Regions from separate parts of the Homo sapiens genome. Here region 2 is linked to region 1. Evidence: promoter capture Hi-C in 16 types of primary human blood cells and fetal thymus (Javierre and others, 2016). All regions are on one chromosome and are shown on one strand. The core of a region is centred on a gene start or on the middle of the fragment in contact, and the rest is flanking DNA. Distances in the headings are between cores, read along the strand shown. Region 1 holds the start of EOLA1-DT (EOLA1 divergent transcript). Region 2 has its middle 25 kb from the start of HSFX1.

Region 1 (2,700 bases), core at 1-2,500:
AGCTCCCGTCATCCCTTTCACGAAGAACGTACGTGGGCGCGCAATCACGCATGTATGCACACCACGCACGTACGCGGGAGGCACGTACTCAGCCATGCATATAGACAGCAAACATTATGAATCTCGCATTCTCGAAGACACGCACTGACGACATCACGCACGTACGCACGCCCTGGCTGCTAGGAGACGCTATTCTCTTTACCTGGCCCTGATGCGCGCCAGCCAACCAGGCCAAGGCCAGGGGACCTCGAGACCGGCAGCCTCGACGAAGAACCGGAAGGAGGAAAAGGAACGGGAGGGAGGAAGAGTAAGTGGAAGGGTGGGACGAGGACACCAGGCAGGAGTTTTGGGCCCAGAGCTGCTATACCAGCAGGGAGGAGCTGGGAGAAACCGCTGGGGAGGGGGTGGAGGCGGGGCTGAGAGGAGGAGGGCGGAGCTGGGGGAGGGGCCGAGCGGGACTGACAGAAACAATTGGGGGCTGGGTTGAGGGCGGGGCTGAGATAAGAGGCGGGGTGTGGGGCAGGGCCGGGCGGGGCTGAGAGAAACCATTGTGGGCAGGGCCGTGGGAGAGCTGAGCGAGGAGAAGCTGCAGGAAGAGCTCGCGGACTCTTGAGAATCAGCAGGGGGAGGCAGGTGTCCGCTGAGAGAAGGAGGGAGGGGGAGAAAGAAATCACTGGGAGGGGCTGGGGGCGGGGTTTTTAAAGCAGCTGCGTGAGAAGTAGGGCGGGGCTGGGAGAGGCGGGGCTCTGGGGGGGCTGAGAATGCTGGGGAAGGTTTGGGGGCGGGGCTTTGGAGGCAGCCACAGGAGAAGCAGGTCGGGGCTGCGGGCGGGGCTCGGGGTGGGGCGGGGCTGAGAGAAACTGCTGGGGAGGGGGCCGAGGGCGGGGCTTTGGGAGCAGCCGCGGGAGAAGCGGGGCGGGGCAGGGAGGGGAGGGGCGGGGCAGGGAGGGGCGGGGCTGAGAGAAACTGCTGGCTGAGGTCGGGGCTTTGGAAGCAGCCCCGCGAAGAGCAGGGCGGGGCAATGGGAGAACTGAGCGAGGAGCAGCTGCGGGAGGACCCCTCGGACTCCTGAGAACCAGCTTAGGGGAGCGGGGGCTTGGGGAGGTGTAGGGTGGAATCACGAGAAAGCTCTGTGGGAGGGCCTGGTGCACAGCTCAGCTGCAGCGTGGAGCTGAGGGAAAGCCGGGCGTTCCTGGAGGAGGAGCAGGGCGGGGCTGTGGCAAAGAGGTGTGGGAGCAGATGGGGCGGGGCTGCGGGAAATTGCTGGAGAAGGGGGAGCCAAGCTGGAGTAAGGCTGGCGGGTGAGAATGGTGGGGGAGGAGCTAGTGCAGAGCTGGAGGAAAGAGCTGAAAGGTGCTGGGGTGGGCAGAGGGGTAGGAGAAGCGGGACGGGGCTAGAGGAGGCGGAGCTGGGACTGGAGATGCAGGGTGAGCAGGGTGGGGCTGCAGCAGGAACTGGGTTAGAGCTTCTGGAGGAGCCGCCTGCAAGAGGAGGGCGTAGTTGTGGGAAAGAGCTGTGGGTGGAACTGGTTAAGTGCTGGGAGGAGGAAGAGCTGGGGGCGGAACAGCTGGGGCGGAGCTGCCGGAGGAGGAGCTGGGGGTGGAGATGCTGGTGAAATGAAGCAGAGCCGAACTGGGGGTGGAGCTGTGGGTGGAGCTGGGGGAGGGAGCTGAGGCCCTTCTGTGATGCACCCTTAGGCAAGAGTCAAAACTTGCCCGCAGCGACCTAACTGCACCTCCAGTGTCTACCCCCATAGGGCACGGAAGCAGCAAGAAGGGCGGGAACACTTGACTGGGGTCTATGCAGCTCTAGGCTGAGTCTTGCAGGGCTGAGCCCCCCAGGCCTGCTCTCCTGTGTCCTAGCCGCTCTGTCAGTGCCTGCCAGTGGGGTCCGGAGGAACCGTCTCTTTAACGTCTCTTTTGCAGGTGATGAGAAACATCCCCACTCTTAATGTCTTGCCTCCTCCGACCTAAGTCGCCCAGCACACAGCCCAACTTCCCTGGCAAACTTGCTTTTCAAACTCTCTTCTCTCAGTCACGGGCTCAGGTTCTGTAGTGCTGCCATGCTTTACTCCTCTGTCCCTCCCCTTATCTAGTCTCCCGCATTGACTTCATAACCAAGTTCTGGGTCCCTGCCTCTGGAGTGCCTGATGAGACAAAACGGCTCCTCGTCCTGCATCCCCGCTGCTACTTCCAGAATTCAGGCCTCGTGGTCTGGAGCCTGCACTGTTCCATGAGCCTCCTGAGCAACCTGGAGTCCTCTGTCTTTCTTCCCTCAGGTCTGTCGTCCACATTCCATCGGCTCAGTTTCTAAGTCACAAATCTGTCCCCAGCAATCCTCTAGTGAAAACGCTGCTGGGCCTTCTCAGGTTTAAGTCCTAGCAGTTCAGGGAGTCGGCTCAGCTCTCCCCACCCTTAAGCCAAACACTCTTTGGGTTCACGCTGTGCTGTTCAGTCACTGGTCCCCACCAGCCTGCTGTTCCAGGTCTCCCTGCTTTGCACCGGCGGTTCCCATGGCCTTGTCCTGGTGCGCTCCTGGCCTCCTTCAAGGCACAACTTTAAAGTCACCTTCACAGCCCCACTCCGAGTATTAGAGACTTTCGTCTCCAGCTCTGATAGCATTTTGTACCTCCCCCGTCCCCACCCCACGTTAGGCTCTTGCAACCCAGGGTGGTAATTGCTCTGTAAGACTTGTGGCTGC
Region 2 (2,700 bases), core at 94-2,593, 210 kb before region 1:
CTGGACCCCCATTCTCTGCTCCCCTCAGACCAAGTCTCTGACTCTGAGTCCCATGAGGTGGCAGTCGGGAGAGGGGTGTGGTCGGGACGACAACATTGCCAGGGTCTTCCAGGGAATGACGGGAGGGGCTGAGTTGGATTCTGTGGCCCCTCTATGTGGGGAGGGTGGACCTTCAGTCCTCACTCAGGAGGATCCTCCTCCTGACTCCTGGCTCTTTCGATGCAGTGATGGGTGGCAGATACTCTGTTTCTGTCACCTCTGAGCCTTTGCCCAGCTGCACCCCTTGCAGAGAATGGCTGCGGGTCCCAGGCCAGGTGCTCCGTGGGGGGGCTGCAGGAGCTGTGATTGTAGTGGCCTCTGGGAGAAGACACGCACCTTCCCAGGGCAGCTCTTCCCCAGCCAGAGGTTGAATTTGCAAACCTTTTACCCTAAAATATTTATTTTTACATTGAGTAGGCTGACCAGCAGCTAGAAATCTAAGGAGTTCTGCCATTGGAATTATCTAACATTTCATAGCTCAGTGCAGTGATTTTCATTTTTAAACTTTCATTCAGCATCAGAAATCATACTTAACCTCATTATGCCTGTTTCATTCTAATGCTCAACACTCTATTTGTAATCCATTCTTTATGTTCAGTTAAGCCAATTCACCTATTAATGTGGTTTTAGGTGGTTATTAGCACAGACTGGAGCTACTACTGTTTCAATGAAACCAGACTACTGGCACCTGTGGTCTCAGGTGCCACCTGACATTTTCACACTGGAATAGGGGCAAAAATTTAAACATTTCCTTCTACACATCCTGTCATCTTCCTTCTATGCCAGCTATGGACTCTCCCTAACTTCCTTGACACTCTGGCCACTTCGATTACAGGTACCAGTTAAATACAGTCTTCATTCTCCCTCAGAGCTTTCTCATGTTTTGTTGTTTAGATTTTGTTGTTTATACTGTTTGTTTGTTATTTTATTCTTCCTTCTATAGTTTTCCAGGGTTCGTTTTGGGAGTGAAGGACAGAAGCCCAAGCTTGACGTTCATATTGCCAGCTAAATTTTAAGCGTTATATCTGTACATCTTGGATAAAGAAAAATTGACATCTTTTCAATAGCCTGTTCCCTATTAAGGGATATGGAATATGGCTCTATTTATCTGGGAAGTTTTTGACCCGAATCTATCAGTATTTGCATAGTTGTTTCCATAAAGATCTTGTATGGTTTGTCTGTCTTATTAGACAATTTCTGGATTTTGTTGCCATTGTGAATGGGGTATTTTCTATTACTTGTTCTGAGTGGTTATTTCATTGGGTTGCAAGGATTTTGATTTTACTGTAGTAACCTGTATACTATTATTCTGAAGTCTGTTATTTGACTATTCCATGTGCACATTTCTTTGAATTTTCTAGATAATCATATTGTCATACCAAATATTAACTCTTTCTGTTCAATATTCATACTGATTTCTTTTGATATCCATATCTCCTGCCTTATGTTACATGCAGTTTCCAAAGATAGAGGTTATAGCCTATGTCCATGACAAGAATTCTTCTAACATTTCATACTTAAGTATGTTGTCCATTGATCTCAGGAAAAGAAAATATGCTGCTAAACTTATTTTGCTAAATGTTTTGACCATTAACTTGTATAGAATTTCATCCAGAAGCTTTTTTATACCTACTAAAGTGATCACTTTTTAAAATCTTAATTCGATAACGTAGGAAATCACAACTGAAAATTGTTTTATATTAAATCATGTTTTTGTTCCTTGGACACAATCCGTTAATTCACTTCTATGTTGAATATGCTACTAATTTAATTAATATATTTGCCTCTGTGTGAGTGAAGTTTGGCTCAAGTGTTTTCACGGTGCTGTCCTCCTCTGGTACCTGAATGAAGAATGGTTAGCTTGGGAAAATAATTTGAATAATTGCCCAACTTTTCGTATGCCTTGGAAGAGTTTACTTAAGGTGGCTTTGAGCTTTACCTGATAACAATGTAGAATTGGCCTCCGAAGCTGCCTTGTCCACATTTGAGGATGGCTTGAGCTTAGATTAGTTTCACTTTTTATTGTTTGGTTAAAGATTTGAATTTCTTTTTGTATCAATTTGTTCATGTACTTATTTTCCTAAAATATTATCCATTTCACTTAGGATTTCAAATTAAATATCATATTTATTTCAAAAATATTTTCATTACAAGCATTTTCAAATACACCTAATAATAGGGTAAATACTATAATTAATCTAATATACCAGACTTTCAGTATCAATAATCTTCAACTCATGGCCAATCTGGTTCTAGTTATACCCCTACCTACTCCGCATAGCAGAAACTGAAATAATGTGGAGCAAATCCAAGACACCATGTGATCTCATCTCCAAATACATCAGAGTGCATTTCTAAAGATAACTACTCTCTTATAAAACATAAAGCCAACATTATTATCTTTCCTAAACATGTAAGCAAGTCATTAATATAATGAAATGTTCACTTATTTGTCACATGTATCTGGTGGACATATGCTCCTGTTAAAATGCAGTTTCTTTGAATCGGTTTGCAAATATGATCTATACATTGTGTTTATGTTCTTAATAGCCACCTTAAGTAATTTATAGATTCCCCCACATTACCTTTTTTTGAAACTCATTTGTTGAAAATGAAGACATGCCTTGTGTTCTGTCCAGTTTCCCATACTCTGGATTTTGC

The links. Contacts are between HindIII fragments. The CHiCAGO score rates a contact against its expected background, and 5 or more counts as called.
Region 2: a contact is called between a fragment that was not itself captured here and the fragment with the promoter of EOLA1-DT in region 1, in 1 of 17 cell types (endothelial precursors). The highest score is 5.1, in endothelial precursors.

Annotation. Positions count from the first base shown.
Region 1 is chrX:149,538,302-149,541,001 of GRCh38, reverse strand. EOLA1-DT (EOLA1 divergent transcript) reads left to right here and starts at 1,250. Exons shown (of 10, transcript NR_027455.5): 1 at 1,250-1,301; 2 at 2,096-2,278. It also overlaps a transcript of EOLA1 not described here. RefSeq lists silencers at 397-587, 620-689, 700-1,009, 1,760-1,839. The HindIII fragment of the contact is 11,440 bases long and covers 1-2,700 here.
Region 2 is chrX:149,747,713-149,750,412 of GRCh38, reverse strand. No RefSeq gene overlaps it. Among named protein-coding and RNA genes, the nearest start is that of HSFX1, 25 kb to the left of the region's middle. The HindIII fragment of the contact is 633 bases long and covers 1,027-1,659 here.